Linked DNA regions of Homo sapiens: regions 1, 2, 3, 4, 5 and 7 are each linked to region 6. Evidence: promoter capture Hi-C in 16 types of primary human blood cells and fetal thymus (Javierre and others, 2016). All regions are on one chromosome and are shown on one strand. Each heading gives the region's core, a stretch centred on a gene start or on the middle of the fragment in contact. The rest is flanking DNA. Distances are from core to core; before and after follow the strand shown. Region 1 has its middle 17 kb from the start of RAET1L. Region 2 holds the start of GINM1 (glycosylated integral membrane protein 1). Region 3 overlaps LATS1 (large tumor suppressor kinase 1). Region 4 overlaps PCMT1 (protein-L-isoaspartate (D-aspartate) O-methyltransferase). Region 5 overlaps PPIL4 (peptidylprolyl isomerase like 4). Region 6 holds the start of ZBTB2 (zinc finger and BTB domain containing 2). Region 7 has its middle 12 kb from the start of ULBP3.

Region 1 (2,758 bases), core at 38-2,537, 1.4 Mb after region 6:
AGTAAGATGGCCTGAGCCCAGGAGTTAGAGGCTGCAGTGAGCTATGACCACGCCATTGCACTCCAGCCTGGACAACAGAGAGAGCTAGTATCAAAAAAAAAATAAAAAATAAAAAAATGGCATAGCTAAATCCTAAACAGTAATAATTAACAATAAACGTGAATTACTAAACTCATCACATAAATCAGCGAAACTCCCAGGTTGGATTTTAAAATATCGAATAATATACAGTATTTTAAAAAGGCAATGTTAAATGTAAAGATTAAAAATAAAAGGTGCTGTATCTGCCAAGAAAGGCTACTTTGTTTTTTTGTATTTGTTTCTTTTAGCGACTACAATATGCTTTATAGTTCTTGGAAAGGACTCAGGGTTTGGCTTTAAATCAGGCTGCACGCTCTTCATCAGTCTCACATCTCTCTCCCCATGCCAGGCTGGCTCCAGCCTGCAATGCTGCATTACATTCCAGGGAGACATTCAGGAGCTTACAGAAGCCTCCCCTCCTCCTGGCCTCCCTGCAGTCCAAGAACCCCCATGACCCCTGTTTAGGGTCCAGCCTGGAACTCACCGACCCGACCCACCCTGGACCATCCTGGCACCAGGAACAGAAGCTGGATGCAGACACCCAACTCTGTGCCAGCACCTGTGCCACTGGGGACCTGGAGCCCAGGGCGTGACACACCCGGAGGAAACAGAGGGCCCCCACGTGAGTCACCGAGGCTCTCGATGCTGTCACAGCTCCAGTGGCCCCGCCCCGCCCACTTGCAACTCCAGGCCCTGGGGCTGGAAATACTTGGATCCTGGCTCCCTCTCAGACCCTAACCCTTCTTTTCTCCTTCACTTTCCTCCTGGCCCCCTTATCTTTTCCCAATGCCATTCCTGCTTTCAGACTCATTCCTTTTTTGCTTAAATACAAGATTTTCGGCTAGGGCGTAGTGGCTCACAGCTTTAATCCCAACACTTTCCGAGGCCAAGGCTGGCGGATCATGAGGTCAGGAGTTCGAGACCAGCCTGGCCAACATAGTGAAACCCCGTCTCTACTAAAAATAAAAATAAAAATAATTAGCCAGGTGTGGTGGTAGGTGTTTGTAATCCTAGCTACTGAGAAGGCTGAGGCAGGAGAATCACTTGAACCAAGGAGGTGGAGGTTGCAGTGAACGAAGATTGTGCCACTGCATACCAGCCCGGGCAACAGTACAAGATTCCGTCAAAAATAATAAAATAATAATAATAATAATAATGACAACAACAATAACAAAGGCAAGATTTTCCTGGCCATGGTGCGCCCTAGGCTCAGTCAAACCATATGAAGACAGCAGTTTGCTGTCCATCATCACACTATGTTTTCTAGAAGTTTCTATCCTGATGAAGCACCCCAGACTGGTTGAAAACCAAAGTTACTCTTCCTTGGAAAATCTTTGTGGACACCCAGGTGGGCATACAAATTTCCAAGTTGTGGCCGGGAGCAGTGGCTCACACCTGTAATCCCAGCACTTTGAGAGGCCAAGGCAGGTGGATCACCTGAGGCCAGGAGATCGAGACCAGCCTGGCCAACATGGTGAGACCCTGTCTCTACTAAAATTGCAAAAATTAGCCAGGCACAGTGGCAGGCACCTATAATCCCAGCTACTTGGGAGGCTGAGGCAGGAGAATCACTTGAATCCAGGAGCCGGAGGTTGCACTGAGCTGAGATCATCCCACTGAACTCCAGCTTGAGCAATAGAGCAAGACTTCGCCTCAAAAAAAAAAAAGTAGGGACATGGATGAAGCTGGAAACCATCATTCTCAGCAAACTATCCCAAGGACAAAAAACCAAACACCGCATGTTCTCACTCATAGATGGGAATTGAACAATGACAACACTTGGACACAGGAAGGGGAACATCACACACCAGGGCCTGTTGCGGGGTAGGGGGAGGGGGAAGGGATAGCATTAGGAGATATACCTAATGTAAATGACCAGTTAATGGGTGCAGCACACCAACATGGCACATGTATACATATGTAATAAACCTGCATGTTGTGCACATGTACCCTAGAACTTAAAGTATAATTAAAAAAAAAAAACTAAAACACGAAAAATGGGCAAAAAAATTTTACCAACCTCAATGCTGCCACCTTCAGGCCCCTGGAGGTTACATCCTCCGCTCCAGCTCCCCTCTGCACCTGTGCTATTCCTCCCAGCCCCACTCACTCCCACAACTGTCTCATTCATTCACTGGTTCACTCAGCCTCCAACCACACTTACATCATGTCAGGCTCACCAGGTGATGGAGAAAAAAATCATCCTCTGTGGGTCTGAAAAACATGCCTGAGTCCTGATTGCGGGTCTCGCTTTCATTTCCACCCCCTCACAGCACACTCAGGGCCATGAAGAGGCCGCGGCCTGGGTTCAGAGCTCCAGCTCTCCTCAGGGTGGGCCTGGCAGTTGCTGACTTCAGGGAGGGCGGCAGGGCTCACAACTGAAATAGGAGACCTGCCCTGGGTCCTTAGCATGTGCAAGGACAGGGTTCCTTGTAGAATCTGCTCATTTCATCTGTGTTCATAGCATTTGTCATTTTCCACATGCGGACATCCATGCCCAGAAAGCTGAAGAACCTTGCACAGGAATATTCAGCTGCAATATCAGCTGACTTCCATGTCTGAATGCATGATCTCTAAATCACAGCCATTACAGTCACTTTTGGGCCACTTCTATGCCCATCCTGGGCTGGCCTGAGTGTGGTGGCCAAATGCCGGCAGCAGGGGTGAGGCAGGAGGG
Region 2 (3,019 bases), core at 1-2,500, 1.8 Mb after region 6:
CCCTCACCCAGGCTGGAATGCAGTGGCACGATCTCGGCTCACTGCAACCTCTGCCTCCCGGGTTCAAGCAATTCTCCTGTCTCCGCCTCCCGAGTAGCTGGGACTACAGGCACCTGCAACCACGCCCAGCTAATTTTTCTATTTTTAGTAGAGACGGGGTTTCACCTTGTTGGTCAAAGTGACACTTACCGTGCCCTTCGCCTTTGTATTTAGAGTGTTCATATTCAAGTCTTGACTAGGAAGAGGTGTACCGACATAGTTTCTTGTCATTCTCAGAACACTTGCTCTTTAAAATATTCAAACTTTTCCCTACCATTCTACTGAAAAAAGGCTGATACTGGCCTAGGTAGGCACGACTCTACGGCAGGAATGGTGAGCATCAGCCACGTTTTAATGTTAGGATGCCTCGATTCTCCCACCTCAGCTGGCATCAGAAGCACCTGCAGGACTCTCCAACCCGGACTGCTGGGCCCCGCCCCCAGAGGCCGGGCTGAGTCCCCAGGGGATGCGGACACCGCCGATCGCGCCCCGCCGTGAGAACTTCTCCTCCAACATCCGACAAAAACATTACGTCGCGCGAGGGCCAGGTCTCTCCCTCTGCCCACCTGAGCCCGGCGGAGCCCCGCAGCCTCGGAACGGCGGACCCTCGCGATCGCAGGCCGAGCAGGCACAAGTGGCCTGGAAATGCGCGAAGTGGGCAACTTCCACACTTCCCGAGCACACAAACATTCCTTGCCCAAGCGCTGGCTCTACCCCGGGAAGGCGCCATTACGAAGGCCTGATCACCGGCAACCGCGCGCTTCGACGGCAAAGCCCCGTCAGGTCGCGCGCCGGCTTGGGCCGCCGGAGAGTCGGTGTGGAGTGGCTCGAGGCTCACTCACAGCGACGCAGCCCCAGTGGGTCCCTTTCCTCTTACCTCGGCCTCCCACGCCGCCCCCATTTCCTGGGGTGCTTCTCCCCACACCTCCTTCGGGGGCCCGGACCCCCGCCCCTGCCCGCCGGTGGGATGTGGGAAGCGTCACTGTGGACAGCCCGGGCCTCCCGGAGAGTCGGAGTCGTAAAGCGGCCAGCCAGGCCCGCCCTGCCCTACCTGTGGGGCTCCGGACAGCGGCGGCGGCTCGGGGGCGCCCGTCGTCAGCCAGCCGGAGGCGGGTAGCGCCACGAACAGCAGGAGCCGGAGGGCGAGCGACCCCGGTGGAGCGCCCTCCATCTTGGACAACCCGGGCAGAGGGCAGCCGCGGCCGGGAGGTGAGGGCGGAGCCGGCCCGCGGGCGGGACGGAGCTTCGGCGGGAGGGACGGGGAGGGGCGGGGAGAGACGGGGAGGGGCGGGACGGGCCCTCCCCTCCCCGGGCGGCCGCGGAGAGGCGCGGGGACGCTCCGAGATCCGGCTCGCCAGGGAAAGGCGTTTGCGCACGCGCAGCGCCGCGCGGCGTCGAGGGGCGGAGTGAAATCTTGGAAGGTACGGCCCCTCATTAGACCCGCCCTCAGGATTGGACAGGACTCCAACTGGAGCGATGTAAATGTCCTCGTAACCATTATTTTTAAAATTAGTATTTACACACATGCATGTGTCTGTGTGTGCACATGTACATGTACCTATACGATGAAAACAACGGTAATATTTCAGAAAACTGTTATACATTAAAAATGAAACATCGCATTTACAGGGGAAGTTTTTATTAAGTGGGTAATTCCCCACCCTTGGCTGCACGTGGGACTCTCCCGGGCAGCTTTAAAAAGTACTGGGGTCTTCCTGAACACCCCACTTTCCAGCCTGGGCTGCGGCTCGGGCCCTGGTGGTTTTTTAATTTTCTCGGGTGATTCATTGTGGGGCCAAGGTTGAGGATGCGCCATGCTTACTGTTCAGCATTCTGCCGACCCCTGGAGGCGGCGCGGGGACAGCGCTCAGCTGGAAGGAAGCCAGCGCACCTGGGCTGTCAGTGCCTTTTTGGTCAGTATCGTAACTCTAAAGTGAAAGTGTTAGACTTTTCTTCCACCTTGCAGATTTAAAAAAAAAAAAAAGTTACGGAACCCTGTAAAGCAGAGTAGCAAGAAATTCAAGCATTTTAGATTAACAGGATTGCATGTTGATTGAGAAAAACTTGGAAACTTGGCCATTCAGGCAGAATAAGAGTAATATTTAGTCTTCCTTTGAAATAAAACTTTTGACATGAAATAAAACTTTTGACATGAAAAAGGAAACAAGAATCTATTTCTCTCTTTGAGCCCCCTTTACTCCTTTGAACACCCTCCTCCCACAGGCCTGCTGACCGCCACCGCCCCCTCCCCCGGCCCCGCCCCAGAATAAATTATAAACGTTTTGGCTAAAGACTCCTTTCAACTAACTCCGGGCTTACTCTGAGATTCCCCACGCCATTGTTAAGCTACAAGTGATTTCACAGCGAAGCCCCACACACTTCTGGGTTCCATCTGCAAACTTGGCCTTTTCCTTTTTTTCCTACTGCTGGAATTAAAAATGAATTTGGAGATGGGCGTGGTCATTTGTGCCTGTACTCCCAGCTATGCAGCAAACGCAGGCAGGAGGATCGCCTGAGTCTATTAAAAAAAAAAAAAAAAAAAGGAATCTAGAAGCCGGGTGCAGTGGCTCACGCCTGTAATCCCAACACTTTAGGAGGCCGAGGCGGGTGGATCACTTGAGGTCAGGAGTTCGAGAATAGCCTGGCCAACATGGTGAAACCCCATCTCTACTAAAAATACAAAAATTATCCAGGCATACTGGCACGCACCTGTAATTCCAGCTACTAGGGAGGCTGAGGCAGGAGAATCGCTTGAACCCAGGAGGCGAAGGTTGCAGTGAGCCAAGATCGCGCCATTGCACTCCAGCCTGCGCGGTGGAGCGAGACTCCGTCTCCAAAAAAAAAAAAAAGAATCTGGAAGTCAGAAAACATGACATGTGGATCTGTATAATTTGAATTAGTAATATAAGGTTACAAAGTACGTCTATATGAAAAGATAATAGGTAAAGTTGAGGCTCTCTGTTTTCTTACAAAGCCTTTC
Region 3 (3,129 bases), core at 70-2,569, 1.7 Mb after region 6:
ATGCCACCACGCCCAGCTAATTTTTGTATTTTTTAGTAGAGATGAGGTTTCACCTTATTGGCCAGGCTGGTCTCAAACTCCTGACCTCGTGATCCGCCTGTCTCGGCCTCCCAAAGTGCTGGAATTACAGGTGTGAGGCACCGTGCCCGGCCAAAAGATATTTTTTTTTTTTTTAACAAAACAGTTTCTTTAAAGTTAGTAAGCCTCTTCCGATCTGTTTGGTTTCCTTCAGTTCTATGTGTCAGTAACCACAGTCGAAGTTCACATGTATTGGTAAACTCATCCAAAGATTTAAGAGCGTCTATTCCTCCTCCTCTCATTTGGTTGTTTGAGGCTATTAGGTTTGATGGGAAGGCTACGTCTTTAATATGGTCTTAACCACAGAAGCACTAGTTAGCTAAGGGGTTTCAGTGGGCATCTGTGCTCAGTCTTTTAATCCTGCCTCTAGGGGTCTAGGTACAAGCTGCTTTTCCAATCCTTCAAGGCTTTAAATTTCTGAACTTTTTCTATTCTCTTCTGTTTTTGCTTTCAAATCTACTACTTCCTTCTTGAACTCATCATTTACTTATAATACTTGCCAAATATCTAATAGCAGCCAATACTCACTTCCAAAATCCTCTTTACCAAACTCCTATAACACTACAAGGTCAGTAGCCTCTTTGTATGTTCACTGACCTTGTAGTTGTATGAAAAGTTATTATAGGCAACAGCGTTACCAGATATTTTGCCACTATAAAACATGATCCTCCATCTTTCCAGCCTCCGGTATCTGTTTCCTCTCAGCCCTTAATCTGACCACTAAGGCAGTATCACTAAGGCAGGACTGCATAGGTTTTTATTGTAGCAGCACCTCACTTCCAGGTACCAGTTTTCTGTATTAGGATAATGAAACACTGAATATACAGATGGACAATGGCCAGATCATATATAAAACTAGAACTCTGACCCATGACCTATGTAGCAATAGGCCCAGTCAGGACTTGGTCAGTAATTACCAGCTTCCCTAATTTTTGTGCCTTCTTCCAATTCGGGACGACTCAGAGAAAGCCAAATATGCTTCCCAAATCAACCACATAGGATACCCCGCTTCCAGTGTCGACGAAGAGTCAAACTCTGTAAAATATTTTAAGAGATCTATTCTAAGCCAAATATGAATGGCTATTGCCCCATGACACAGCCCTCAGGAGCTCCTGAGAACATGTGCCCAAGGTGATCAGACTACAGCTTGGTTTTATACATTTTAGGGAGACATAAGACATCAATCAGTATATGTAAGATGTACATTGGTTAGGTCCAGAAAGGAAGACACCTTGAAGCAGATGGCTTCCAGGTCATAGGTAGATTCACAGATTTTCTGATTGGCAGTTGGTCGAAAGAGTTGTTACTGTCTAAAGACCTAGAATCAATAGAAGGGAGTATCTAGGTTAAGATAAGGGGTTGTGGGCAGGCACAGTGGCTCACGCCTGTAATCCCAACACCTTGGGAGGCCGAGGCAGGTGGATCACGAGGTCAGGAGTTCAAGACCAGCTTGGCCAACATAGTGAAACCCCATCTCTACTAAAAATACAAAAATTAGCGAGGCATGGTAGCGCACGCCTGTAATCCCAGCTACTCAGGAGGCTGAGGCAGGAGAATCACTTGAAACCGGGAGGCGGAGATTGTGGTGAGCCAAGATCAAGCCACTGCATTCCAACCTGGGCAACAGAGTGAGACTCCATCTAAAAAAAAAAAAAAAAAAAAAAAAAAGATAAGGGGTTGTGGAGACCAGGGTTCCCATTATGCAGATAGAATCAATAGGAAGGAATGTCTGAGCCAAGGTAAGGGGTTGTGGAGACCAAAGTTCCCATTATGTAAAGGAAGCCTCCAGGTGGCAGGCTTCAGAGATAATACATTGTAAATGTTTCTTATCAGGGTTGATTCTCTCCTGGATCAGGCAAAAGGCCTGAGAAAGGAAGGGAATTAACTTCAGAATGTAGATTTTCCGCACAAGAGACAGCTTTGCAGGACTGTTTGAAGATATGGCAAAGAAACATAATTTGGGGTCAAATACTTGGATTTCTTTCAGGGCCTGCCATCTGTCATGTGATACTATGCTAGAGTCAGGCTGGAATTGGGTATCTTATTGCTACAGAGAGTCTGTTTTGTCAGTCTTAAGATTTGTTTTAATGTTAGTGCTGGTCAGCTGTGCCTGAATTCCAACAGGGAGGAGGGAATAATGAGGTATGGCCAAACTCCGCTTCCCATCATGGCTGGAACTAGTTTTTCAGGTTAACTTTCAAATGCTCTTGGCTGGGAGGAGGGGTTCATTCAGATGGTTGAAGGACTTAGAATTTTATTTTTGGTTTACATCAGTTAGCCCACCTCCAGTTTCCCATGCCAACAACCTACAATCAGAGCATACCTGATGTCTTCCCCCTTTTTTTAGTATAAAGATTTCCCACTCCCCTGCTTGCCTTTGAATCTTTGCCAAGCACAAGTTGACAGTGGCTGACTCCCTACCTATATAGTAAGATCTAATTAAATAGCCTTTGTTTGTTTCCATTTGGGCAGTCTTTGTCTATTTTCACAATGTTATTAGGCTGTTTTGTGGTAACAAATCCCCAAATATCAATGGCTTAACACAACAGAAATGTTTCTCTTGCTCAGAGTTCAGTGGGAGTCAGTAGGGTTCTCCATCCAGTGGCTTAGGGATCCACCTTCCTTCCATATTGTCAAGCCACCATCTCAGAATGTAACCTACATTGTCATTAAAGCAGGAAAACCGAAGCAAAGTGACTTTTAACTGCCTCAGTCCAGAATTGAGATATGTTACATCTGCTCATCCAGCTTTGGCCAAATCTGGGAAATGGAGTCGAGTACTGTATGTGAATATAGTCTCTGCCAGAATATATTTACCAAAAGCAATTGGCTAAAGATATACACAATTCCTCCATTTCAGCGTTTTTGAGATCAGAAGATTTAGATTATCTTACAATTGAAATTTTTTTTTTTTTTTTTTTTGAGATCCAGTCTCGCTCTGTCGCCCAGGCTGGAGTGCAGTGGTGCAGTCTCGGCTCACTGCAACCTCTGCCTCTGTGGTTCAAGCGATTCTCCTGCCTCAGCCTTCCGAGTAGCTGGGACTACAGGTGC
Region 4 (2,828 bases), core at 182-2,681, 1.6 Mb after region 6:
CACTTAAACCGGAGAGGCAGAGGTTGCAGTGAGCCAAGATCACACCACTGCATTCCAGCTTAGGCAACAGAGTGAGACTCTGTCTCAAAAAATAAAATAAAATATTTTTTAAATCATAAAATCTAGGTACAAGGGACCACTGGGGAAAAAAATCACAGAATCTTGGATTTGGAAGGGTCCTTAGAGATCTAGTGTACATTCAAATCTGATGACAAAATCCCTTCTACAATATCCCTTACAGTGAAATGGTCAACCATTCTTTGCTTCAACATATTTGGTGACAGAAAACACTTTTTCAAAGCCAACTTTTTGATTGTTAGGATAGCTTTGTGAATACTTACTTATAATGAGCCAAAATCTGCCTCCCATTTGTCCTGGTTTGACCCTCTACTACATGACATTTCTTCAAATTTAAACACCACTGCTCCCTAAAGGTTTTGCTAAACCAAACCACCTCCATCCCTTCAAAGCACCATGTAAGATGCTGATCCTCTTGTTATCTTCATCACTCTTATCCAATAATCTTTAGTTTTACACTGCCACCCTGAAAGCATTTAACCAAAGCTAAATATAATATTAATAAAAATATTTTTGTAACAGCACAATCGAATCTTTCCCCTCCTACAGCCTAAGATCTCATTAACCAGAATGTAATACAGCCAAGCATCAAGATCTACTGCAATCCAAAAGAACCTTCAGTGATGGCAGATCTATTCTCTATCTGCACTGTCCAACAGGGTGGGCACTAGCTCCATGTGGCTACTGAGCTCTTGAAATGTGGCTAATATGACTAAAGATATAAATTTTTAATTTTATTTATTTATGTATTTATTTTGAGGCAGTTTCGCTTTTTCACCCAGGCTGGGGTACAATGGAGCGATCTCAGGTCACTGCAAACTCCACTCCCCGGGTTCAAGCGATTCTCCTGCTTCAGCCTCCGAGTAGCTGGGATTATAGGCTCCTGTCACCATGCCCAGCTAATTTTTGTATTTTTAGTAGAGACGGGTTTTCGCATTGTTGGCCAGGCTGGTCTGGTACCCCTGACCTCAGGTGATCCACCCACCTCGGCCTCCCAAAGTGCTAGGATTACAGGCATGACCCACCACGCCCGGCCAATTTTATTTATTTTTATATAATTTAAATTTAAATATATACATAGGATTTCAAGTTTACTTACTAGTACCTATCCATAAGACTGGTTTGAAATAAGTCAAAATGAGAAGGCCTCTGGACTTTGAGGCTCCAATTTCTTAGGATTTTACCAGCTGGTTCTATTTTTCCCATGTGCATACAAAAGTAGTGGAATATTAAGAGTAAATGCTGGCTGGGCGCAGGGGCTCATGCCTATAATCCCAGCAATATTGGAGACTGAGGCGGGTGGATCACTTGAGCCCAGGGGTTTGAGACCTGCCTGGGCAACATGACAAAACCCCGTCTCTACCAAAAAAAAAAAAAAAAAAAAAAAAAAAAAAAAGCCAGTCATGGTGGTGTGCATCTGTAGTCCCAGTTACTCGGGAGGCTGAGATGGAGGAGTCGCTTGAACCCAGGAAACAGAGGTTGCAGTGAGCTAAGATCACGCCACGGCACTCCAGCTTGGGCGACAGAAAGAGGCTCTGTCTCAAAAAAAAAAAAAGGGAAAGAATAAATGCTCTTTTCTACTAGCAACACCTACTAGTGGCTAAGAACTGGTGCTGTAGATAGAAAATAATTTCATTATTTACAAAAGTAAATGCTTTTAGGATATAAAAACTACAAATCATAATTCTTGCATATTCAAATGCCTACTAAAAATCTCGACTTAAATGTCTTATAAGAAAAGCATTCCTCAAAATAATCTGATCTCCCACAGTCCCCTCCTCACAGAATAAACGTGGCTGCTCACTCACTCACCATTTCCAATTTAGAAAATGGCAAATCATTCCAGTTGCCAAGGCCTAAAACCTTGGTGTTGGATCCTTGCCTCCAATCTTTTCTCCCAGATCCTAAATCCAAATCTGGAATTCGCTATTTCTTCTGCCTGGAATGCTTATCCCAAGTCTACCTGCGTGATATGTGTCTACTCCTCCAGCAAATCTTTGGTCTAATGATACCTTACTGAGGCCTTCTCTACAACTATAAACCTACTGCCCCACACACTCTGTCCTCCCTCCCTACTTTGTCACTTATCATGTGACATACTATACTTGGCTGCTCCCATTAGAAGCTACAAGAGGGAGTGGATGTTTGTTTTGTTCACTGCTGTATCCCCAGTGCCTGTCATATAGAAAGCACTAAAATATCAGCTGACTAAATGACAAATTCCATAAACATTATATATGTAAAATGACAAAATCAAGAATGCAAAAGAAACATAAGTAGAAACAATTGATCATTAGGGGAATGGACTGAATTATTTTTACAAATAAAAATAGATAAAAGAACAATTGCTTTCAGTGGTCAGTACAGTAGTTTCCCTTTACCCACAGGAAATACGGTCCAAGACCCTTAATAGATGCCTGAAACCGCATACAATACCAAAGCCCATACAGCCCATACAGATACTCAACATTTTTTTTTTTTTGAGACAAAGTATTGCTCCATCACCCAGGCTCGAGTGCAGTGGCATGATCTTGGCTTACTGCACCCTCAACCTCTCGGGCTCAAGTGATCCTCCCATCTCAGCCTCCCACGTAGCTCATGTAGCTGAGACTACAGGCATGCACCATAATGCCCAGCTAATTTTGTTTATTTTTTGTAGAGAAAATGACAAATGTTATTTTCACTATGTTGCCTAGGCTGGTCTCAAACTCCTGGACTGAAGCGATCCTCCTGACTCAGCCTCCCAAAGT
Region 5 (2,814 bases), core at 73-2,572, 1.8 Mb after region 6:
GTTTCTTCTAAACAATATTCTTCTCCACTATTGTCCTTCTGGCAAACTTACTACTTATTATCTAAATCTCAGATCAAGCATCATCTCTTCTTTGAAGCTCTCCCTCCTTTCTAAGCAGAGTTACCTGAGGGTTCCTCTGCTGTGTCTTAGGTCTTTTATAAACCACATGACACATTTTATTTTAACATTTACCTATTATCCTGGTGTTGTTTACAAGCGTGCCCTCGCTCAAGAATGTAAACTCCAATGAGAGCAGGAACTATACCATAATTATCATCTCTATATCCTGAGTACCCAGTACAATGTCTGCTACTTTTAGGGCACACACTAGAGGTTCATTATGATGACTAATGGATATAAATGTGTTGTATTAGTTAGGACCCTTTGTTCAAGTGATAGAAACCCAACTCAAACTGGCATAAACAAAATAATTGGTTGCCTCATAATACTGGGGTAAGCTTGGATCGAGTGGCTGGATCGAGTGTTTCAAAGAATATCATAGGGAATTTTGTTTTTTATCTCTTGATTTTGCTTTTCTTTGAGTTCCTTTGACGCTCTGCCCATGTAGAGTAGCACCTGGCAAAATAAATGGGCCTCTTTTCCCAGAGTTATGAGGAAATAAAGGGGTGTAGAGCTACCCCACCCAATTAACAAGCAGTGGGTCTGCAAAGATAAGCCCATAACAATAAGTCCACCCCCTGTACATATTTGTAAGCATATGACTGGAGATGTGCTTACATGTGTACCTGCTATATTTATACTCACTTATCAATCTATGATCAACATATCCAGACTTACCTACCTTCCATTCTTTCTTCCTTTTCTTTTTTAACTTTTTATTATAGAAAATTTAAAACACAGATGTAGAGAGAATCATGTAAATGAACTCTCATGTCCACATGACCAGCTTTGTTTAACAGCTGTGAACACATAGCCAATCTTGCTTCATTTATAATACCCCCACCTCCAGTGCATCTATTTAATCTGTAATTACTTCAGTATGTATTTCTAAAATATAACGTCTCTTTAAAAAAAACAAGAAAAAATGGAACTATGAGCTTAAGTACCACATAAGTGACAGGTTAAAAAAGAAAAAAAACTTGACAGGGAAAAGGGAAAAATACTAAAGGAAAGAGAAAAAGTTGTAAAAAAGAATAAAAAAACAGAACCACAGATCTTATCACACTTTGAAAAAACTAGCAATAATTTTTAGTATCATTTAAACTTTCTTATTATCTCATAAACTTCTAAAAAATATGGTGATTTAAATTAGGACCCAAAGTCCATATATTGGTTAAAATGTCTCATATATGTTTTAATCTATTGGTTCTCCCCCTTTTTTCCTTGAAAAAATTTTGAGAAACAACCTGGGTGCTTTGTCTTGTAGAATTTCTCTTGTTTGGATTCGACTGATTATTTACTGGGTGCGTTAACATATTTTTGTGTCCCCTGTTTCCTATAAATTGTTCTTTAGCTTCAGAGCCTTGATTAGGTTCCAGTTTAATGTTTTTGGCAAGAATATTTCATATAAGATAGTGTGTACTTTCAGCTGCATCACATTCAGGAGGCACTTGATGTCTGGTTGGCTCTGTGATGTTAAAATTGGTCAGTGGGTTAAGGCCTTGTTGCGCTTATAAATTGTTCCCATCGGATTTTGATGAAAGACCTAAAGATTTTGGCAGCCATTGATGATCATTGCCTAAATTCATTATTTTTGTTTCTAGTAAAAGGACCACCCCTATCTGTTAAACATGAAGCCCAGAAATATATTCAAGAAAAACAACTGCAAGACTGATATTCAGCACTCTTCAACAGCTCAGCCCCATCTTATCTCTCCAGTCTTTTCATGCTCTATTACTGTGTAATACCAGACTATTACAGAACTTTGGTGTTTTGGACCTCCCCTAAAACATTTAAATTTCCACTTCCAGGCCTTTTCATAGTCTTCCAGACCTAAAATGCTCACCCTTCACTCTCTGCTAGTCCAGTTCTTTTAATGCTTGCCTTAACCTTCCCTGAGGTTTTCTAATTTCCCTAGCCAGAAACAATCTTTTGAACTCTTGTGGAATTTTTAAAACTACTTTTTTTACCATTTTAAATAAGTGGCACACATGTTATTAATTAGATATGCCCAGTATGTAACTACTTGTGTTCAGATGTAAGGACCCTAATTTAATGTAAGCTTTTTGAGGGCAGGGATTGCCTCATATATCTTACTGTCTGTTTGGTTTCTAACTTAGTGCCTTAAGAGCTTGTTAATGTGTCTTTCCACGACTAGACTGTGAACTTTTTGGGAGCAGGGACCACAGTTTAATGGCATTTGTGATGGCAGTGTCAGGCATCTAGAAGGTACTCAGTAAATGTTTATTGGATAAGCAGATTAACTTGTATGAGAAAGGTTGTTCATAAGTGTATGGATTTTTATAAAGGGCTGTTTAACTATTATTTAAAAAATGACCCCGGGTGTTTGACTTTTTCCTAATTGATATAATCCGTATCCATTTTTATATATTCTGCTAGATCCTTTTCTACTACAATATGCTCTTTAAGTGTTCTTTTTTCTCGTAATAAAATCAATCCATCAGTAAATGATTGCTTATAAGTGTCAGTTTTCTGTATTAGCCCAGATGCCCCAAAACTCCTATTAAAGGAAAAAAAAAGGTAATTTAAAATGTTTTTTTTCTAGACTTATTGCCCTTTTATTTTATTTTATTTTATTTTATTTTGAGATAGAGTCTTGCTCTATTGCCCAGACTGGAGTGCAGTGGTGCGATCTTGGTTCACTGCAACCTCCACCTCCTGGGTTCAAGTGAT
Region 6 (3,066 bases), core at 370-2,869:
AAAACAATCAACATCATTTTAGTTCCCTAGTAAGATGAGACAGACCTCAATACTCAAGCCAATCCAAGGAACCAGGCACCAGTCTGAAGGCCAACTTTGATATTCCAGTGACAGCGGTGCAGTAGAATACTTAGATCAGGGTCAGAATTTGGTTTTGGAGGCAGACATTTACCCACTAAAGTCATTTATCTAGCTGATCAAAAAACAGGAAAGTTCAAAGCGAGTATACACTGAATCTATTATCCATTTGAGAGCCACTGAAGCTACACAGCTGCTTATTTTGTCTTCAAAGAAGGAATTAGTCATCAGTACCTGCAGGTATAACTGGATTTCTAAATCAAACTCAGATTTTTAGGAGGGACACTTCTATGTATTAAATTGTCTTAAGATGGTAAGCTTGCCTTAAATGATTTGTAAACTATGTGCCAGGCATTGTGCTAGTGGTCAGACTGTGTAAACCAAAATGGGTTAGACATCACAACCAAGTTAGCATGCCTTGAAACCAGAGTATCCTAGAAACTGCTGCCTCCACTTCCTTAGGAATAAAGCCATATCCTTTCTAAATCTCAAAAAATCCTAGATGTGTAAAGAAATCATTAAATTCTAGTCCTCAAAGGACTGTATTTCCCCAAAAAAGACACGGATTCTAGAAAAATGGCAACAACCAAAAAGTAAACTTTAAAATGTTAAAAATGACCATCAGGAAATTCTAACTTCCCTGCCATGTTTCCGTGTTTCAGGATCTCCCCGTTAAAAGATTTTCCACACCTCTAAATCTAACAGAATAGCCAACTCTGGAATCCATACCTCAAAGACCAAAACCTAACAGGAGAATAAACTGTTCTCTTAACAAACATGCGTTGCAGACTTTCATTTTTGGGGGGGCCAAAACTTCAAAAACGAAAATCGTTGCTGAAATAACCATGAAATTCAACCCTAACAGAAACATCTTACGCCGCTCAACTCATCTGCAAGGTAAAGGAAGCACCTCTGCCTCTGTGCACGCTACAGGAATCTGTACTTCAGCATGACTTTCAGTTACCATTGGTGACACAAAGATACTGCTGGTTTACAGTATCTCCCCGGTTCTAAAGGCCACTCCATTTCAAGTCTTAAAGATTAAAACAAACACGAAAAGTCAAGGGACAAGGGTAAAGGCCAAGAGATCTCAAGCAGAAGCCGGCAGAAGGATACGAGCAGTGGCTCTCCATCTCTACCCCGAGCATCTCAAGGACTTGTGCTACCTAAACACTTTATGTAAACAAGGGGCTTGTGACTCAGGCCTCCAGCCCCAATAGGTGGAGAGAAGTTTCCTCGCCTCGGCTGCACATGGTCTGCAGAAGTTTGGCTGGAGCAGAGCGCGGAGCCTGGGTGGGAGCGGCAGTGGAGTGCTGCAGGCGGCGGCGGCGGCGGCAGAGCAGCAGGAGGCGGAGGCGGGCGGGGGGAGGGGAGCGGCTGGGGGGGGGGCGGAGGGGGCTCTTGCCGCCACTGCTCTCTCGCCGCCTCTCCCCCCCGGCGGGAGCCGCTCGCAGCCTCTTTGCACTAGTCTCTCCGCTCTCTCGGTCATGTGACCTTAACGTAACCGGACAGGAAAAGCCCCGCCGCCGCCGCCGCCGCCGCGCCGGAGACACCGACCGCGGCGGCAGCAGCAGCAGCAGCAGCGAGAGGCAGAGGCGGCGGCGGCGGGGAGGACAGCACGGCCGAGGCTGCCCAGAGGCGCCTCCTCCACACCCCCCGCCGCAGCAGCACCGGCGACAGGTAAGCGCGCACCGCCTCCGCCTCCCGGGGCCGGTGCCCACGTGCCACCCCCAGCCCAGGGTCCGGGAAGGCGGTGGGGGGGCGGGGGCCACCGGAGCTCGCAAACGGTTCCGGCAGAGGCGGTGGCAACAAAGACGACGAATGACCCTCGTACCAGGGCTACGGGTGCAGGCAGGCGGAAGGCCCGGGCCACTCGGGGACCCGGTTCTGGGAAGCGAGGGCAGGGGCGCCTCGCGGGGGCGGCGGCGGCTGCGCCTGGCGCCGGGGCTCTGGCCGCTTGACAAAACCATCCCCCGGAGCCAGGCGGCGGCGAGTCGGCGGCGCCTCCATCCGGGGTTTTGTGGGAGGGGGAGGGGACGGAAGCCGAGAGGGCGGGCGGCGGATCGGAGGGAGGGTGGGAGGGAGGAAGGGGAGGGGGGCGATTCGCGTTCGGTTCCCCGTGGCCGGTCCCTCCCTTCCCGCCGCCACCGCGAAGTGCGCCCTGGGCGGCGGCGGCCGGTGAGCGTCCCGCGCTGGAGCCCTCAGAGGCGGGCCCGTCAGGTGCGTAATCCTTCCGACGCCTCGCCGCCGCCTCCTGCTGCTGCCGCCGCTGCTGCTTCGGCGGCAAGGCCGCGAGCTGCGGAAGTGGGTTTGGGGGAGGGGAGGGAGGAGGGAGGGGGAGGGGAGGGATCCGGTCCGACCGGAGCAGGCCCGGCCTCTCTGGCGCTTCTCCCAGCTGCAGCGGCTCCTACAGCTGCTGCCGCTACTGCTGCGGCTCCGCCTCCCGCTCGCGGGCGGGGGCGCGCACGCGCGCTTCCGGCCTCCTCGGGTCTCGCGCTGTCTCCGGCTCTCGCGCGCGCTCATCCCTCTCCCTCTCTCCCTGTCTGGGCCACCCCCGCCCCCGGCGCCGGGGCTGTTGCGCCGGCCGGGGCGTTGCGCACGGCGTAGGCGTCGGCATTGTGTTAAACTCCGCGGGACTTGGGGCGAGCGCGCGCGCGCACGCGGGACTGAGGGAAGCGGCGAGCGTGCAACGCGGCCGGAGTGCGTCGCCCCTCCCTCCCCCTCAGCCCCTCGGGGACGGGGACAGGGAGGGGGCGGGGCCGGCGAGACCGGAGGGGGCCAGAGGGCCCCGGCGCCGCGCCCCCGGCCCCGCCCCGGGGCGGGTGGGACGAGGTGGCTGTTGCGGCGCGCTCAGGCGGGCGGGGGACGCGTCGGCCTCTGTGGCGCCGCCCTTGTCGCCTGCTCGCTGAGGCTGCAGGCCGGGCCCCAGTCCCGGGTACGGAGCGTGTTGAGCCGGCGGCCTCCAGCTTCCGCCCGACGCGCCATCTG
Region 7 (3,174 bases), core at 670-3,169, 1.3 Mb after region 6:
TTTTTTTATATAGACGGGGTTTCACCGTGTTAGCCAGGATGGTCTCAATCTCCTGACCTCGTGATCCACCCGCCTCAGCCTCCCAAAGTGCTGGGATTACAGGCGTGAGAGCCACCGCGCCCAGCCAGTAACCAAAACATTTTAAAAATTGTATTTAAGCACTTCCTTTTGTAGGGTAGCTAATGCACTGTGCAGGTATCTGCTCAGATTTTGGAATTTTCATATGTTCTCTCTGTGGGATGGATGGATCCCTCATCCATCCACTGAGTTAGAACTGGTAAGAGTTTCCAGCCTTCTGATTTTCTGAACACGCAGTGCCGAGGTTAAGATGGAGGGCAGGAGTTAGTGGGAACCCTTTTGTTATCTATGAGGCTTCATTTGCCTAACTTTCATCATTTCTGAACCTCCATAAGGGCAGTTTATTGTATTATAAAAGGTTATTTGCATAAAAATCTTCATTTGTTTTCTTGAAATTATGTTAACAGAAAAAACAGCACACGACAGTATAAACACCTCTCACACAAACAGCTATCAAGAGATAATTTAAATGTTTTCTAGGGAGGCCGAGGTGAACAAATCGCTTGAGGCCAGAAGTTCAAGACCAGCCTGGCCAACATGGTGAAATGCTATCTCTACTAAAAATACAAAAATTAGCTGGGTGTGGTGGTACATGCCTGTAATTTCAGCTACTGCCGCGAGGGGGTGGGGGTTGGGGGTTGGGGGCTGAGGCAAGAGGATTGCATGAGCCCAGGAGGCAGAGTTTGCAGTGAGCTGAGATTGCCTGGGTGACAGAGAGAGACCCTGTCTAAAAAAAAAAAAAAAAAAAAATTTAAATTTAACATTTATGAGGGCCTTTTTTCTATGAAGTTGCCTGTATTTCCATTTTTTTTTTCAAAAAGTATATCTGTATTGGAGTTAAAAATGGTTTGATGGAATAATATTTCAACTAACTGAAATTATATTTTAATTATTATCCATCTCCAATATTTATTATAGTCCTAGTGTACAGTTTGTTGAGCCCATATTTTCCCTGAGGACTGAAGTCACTGTGAGTAAACTGCCACAAGGTTATTTTATTTCTGGAGGTTGTCTCCCCTAAGTACTGTGAAAACCTATCCTCTTGACGGGGTGCCAACATGGACATTTTCTCATTCACCGAGTAGGAGAAGTCTGCAGGCACTTTTCATTATTTAAGAATTCATGGCCCGGCGCGGTGGCTCATGCCTGTAATTTGGAAGGCCGAGGCAGGCGGATCACGAGGTCGGGAGATCGAGACCATCCTGGCTAACACGGTGAAACCCCACCTCTACTAAAAATACAAAAAAATTAGCCGGTGCGGTGGCGGACACCTGTAGTCCCAGCTACTCGGGAGGCTGAGGCAGGAGAATGGTGTGAACCCGGGAGGCGGAGCTTGCAGTGAGCCGGGATCCCGCCACTGCACTCCAGCCTGGGTGACAGAGCGAGACTCCGTCTCAGAAAAAAAAAAAAAAAAGAATTCACAGCAAAAGATAAAAGCTTTTATTTTTGTTATTTATTTTTGTTTTATGAACGTGGCCCTTTCAGCTTTATAAGAACAATCCATATCGGTGTGCGAAAACCACACACAACCACTCTCCCGAGGAACACACATCCAGGTAGCCGAAGCCTGAATGAAACAGTATGTTTGCCCTTGGTTTTCATGGAAGCCTCAGGTCCTCCTACCGCCTCCCCAAGGCCTGTGCTCATAGCTTTTCTAGACCCTAGGAGACTGGACCCGGGCAGCCCGCTCACCTCTGCCTCGCTCTTTAACTGCAGCGCCCTCTGGTGTACGTCTTGATTTTAGCAGCCGAAGTCACTGGCCCTGTGTCATGCTGCTGGTGCGTCCTGGTGGTAGTTTTATCTTCTGTTTCTCTCAGGTAGCATCTAGAGATAAGTTAGAACGACAAGAGTTTGTAAGAAAAAAATAACAATAAAAACTCTGGAAGCCAGATTCTCCAATGCCCACCATAAAATGCCAAGGAAATAACCTCACTCTCCCCTAAGGACCTGGAGACATTGGCTTAGGAACTCACCTCATTTAGGGCAACTGCCTCATCTGAAAGACAAGAAATGAACACCCGGAGGAGTTAAGTGGCTTGTCAGGCTGATACAGTGAGTTGGGTTGACCACCTAGGCCTTCTGCTATCTATGATGGAAAGAGCTACAATTCACTGAGTATTTATTACCACGAGCCAAGCACCATGCTAAGTCTATTACAGGCATTGGCTTATTTGAGGCCCACAGCAATATATTGAGGTGGGTACTATCATGATGCCTATTTTACACACAGAGAAGCATAAGCTTTGCAATCAAGACTGAGGAAACGTGCATGCTCCATGTCACACAAACACAGGTTTTGAAGCAGGCAGTCTGACTGCAGGGCCGGTGCTTGAAACCACTACTGATCTTACTGTCTTTGTGGCAATTGTATACTTAGATATGGATATGCACATATGTAGATACATGGATACAGGTGTATGGATGTACATGAATTTACACGTGTATGATATATCAGTAAGCAAGATATGGTATCATTTTGCATATTTTGAAACTTAAACCAAATGGTATTATAATTGTATGTACTTGGAGGGCAGATGGGGGAAGGATAAATCCATTCACCTGCTTTCTGCTGTGCCTTCCTATACTACAGAAACAGGAAAGCTAAAAACTACATTTCCCAGACTCCTTTACAACCAGAGTCAGGATGTGGTGCAGATTCAGTCACTCTAATGTGGGGGAATTGCAGCAGGGACCAGGCATCTGCTGCTCTTGCTGCCAAGCCCAGCAGGGGAGATATTCAGGTTTCTGGGCAGCATTAGCTGAGGTCTTGGGCTCTGGTCGCTGGCTCTGAGGTGCTGAGAGCAGGGCACGTGGCATCCACTTTGAAGCTGAAAATCTTCGCAGGCACAGTGGGGTCTGGAGCAGGCAACAGCGGATGTGGCTTCTGAGGGTGGTAGGTTTCTGATTATGGATGGATTCCTTCCTTGTCTTGGTGGCTTCCTAACTGTGGCAGTAGTGATGTGGTAAAGAGTCAGCAGCCTTTTGATCCTAGTGGCTCACATGGGCTTTGGATGGCTTCATGGGGCTATGCAAACAGATGTTGGAGTCCAGAGTCTGCCAAGAGTGGGACTGGACCCTCGGAGTAAAGGTGGACTG

Evidence for each region. Contacts are between HindIII fragments. The CHiCAGO score rates a contact against its expected background, and 5 or more counts as called.
Region 1: a contact is called between a fragment that was not itself captured here and the fragment with the promoter of ZBTB2 in region 6, in 1 of 17 cell types (fetal thymus). The highest score is 5.5, in fetal thymus.
Region 2: a contact is called between the fragment with the promoter of GINM1 here and the fragment with the promoter of ZBTB2 in region 6, in 3 of 17 cell types (neutrophils, fetal thymus and naive CD4 T cells). The highest score is 8.1, in neutrophils.
Region 3: a contact is called between a fragment that was not itself captured here and the fragment with the promoter of ZBTB2 in region 6, in 1 of 17 cell types (fetal thymus). The highest score is 6.1, in fetal thymus.
Region 4: a fragment that was not itself captured here is called in contact with the fragment with the promoter of ZBTB2 in region 6 in 2 of 17 cell types (fetal thymus and non-activated CD4 T cells); the score reaches 8.4 in fetal thymus.
Region 5: a contact is called between a fragment that was not itself captured here and the fragment with the promoter of ZBTB2 in region 6, in 5 of 17 cell types (fetal thymus, naive CD8 T cells, total CD8 T cells and 2 more). The highest score is 12.1, in fetal thymus.
Region 7: a fragment that was not itself captured here is called in contact with the fragment with the promoter of ZBTB2 in region 6 in 1 of 17 cell types (fetal thymus); the score reaches 6.8 in fetal thymus.

Annotation. Positions count from the first base shown.
Region 1 is chr6:150,006,674-150,009,431 of GRCh38, reverse strand. No RefSeq gene overlaps it. Among named protein-coding and RNA genes, the nearest start is that of RAET1L, 17 kb to the left of the region's middle. RefSeq lists an enhancer at 2,381-2,758. The HindIII fragment of the contact is 6,353 bases long and covers 1-2,758 here.
Region 2 is chr6:149,564,606-149,567,624 of GRCh38, reverse strand. GINM1 (glycosylated integral membrane protein 1) reads right to left here and starts at 1,250. Exons shown (of 8, transcript NM_138785.5): 1 at 1,091-1,250. The coding sequence starts at 1,210. RefSeq lists enhancers at 654-703, 1,954-2,083 and a silencer at 974-1,523. The HindIII fragment of the contact is 6,228 bases long and covers 1-3,019 here.
Region 3 is chr6:149,708,286-149,711,414 of GRCh38, reverse strand. The region is part of intron 1 of LATS1 (large tumor suppressor kinase 1); the gene reads left to right. Among named protein-coding and RNA genes, the nearest start is that of LATS1, 8.3 kb to the left of the region's middle. The HindIII fragment of the contact is 9,596 bases long and covers 1-3,129 here.
Region 4 is chr6:149,755,159-149,757,986 of GRCh38, reverse strand. The region is part of intron 1 of PCMT1 (protein-L-isoaspartate (D-aspartate) O-methyltransferase); the gene reads right to left. Among named protein-coding and RNA genes, the nearest start is that of PCMT1, 6.8 kb to the right of the region's middle. The HindIII fragment of the contact is 5,765 bases long and covers 1-2,828 here.
Region 5 is chr6:149,541,926-149,544,739 of GRCh38, reverse strand. All of the region lies in intron 1 of PPIL4 (peptidylprolyl isomerase like 4), which reads left to right. Among named protein-coding and RNA genes, the nearest start is that of PPIL4, 2.7 kb to the left of the region's middle. The HindIII fragment of the contact is 1,724 bases long and covers 461-2,184 here.
Region 6 is chr6:151,390,112-151,393,177 of GRCh38, reverse strand. ZBTB2 (zinc finger and BTB domain containing 2) reads left to right here and starts at 1,619. Exons shown (of 3, transcript NM_020861.3): 1 at 1,619-1,758. LOC124901232 (translation initiation factor IF-2-like) reads right to left here. Exons shown (of 3, transcript XM_047419613.1): 2 at 2,706-3,066; 3 at 1-2,473. The coding sequence ends at 1,574. RefSeq lists an enhancer at 734-1,606 and silencers at 1,588-1,647, 1,658-2,047, 2,128-3,057. The HindIII fragment of the contact is 3,903 bases long and covers 399-3,066 here.
Region 7 is chr6:150,079,457-150,082,630 of GRCh38, reverse strand. No RefSeq gene overlaps it. Among named protein-coding and RNA genes, the nearest start is that of ULBP3, 12 kb to the right of the region's middle. The HindIII fragment of the contact is 804 bases long and covers 1,518-2,321 here.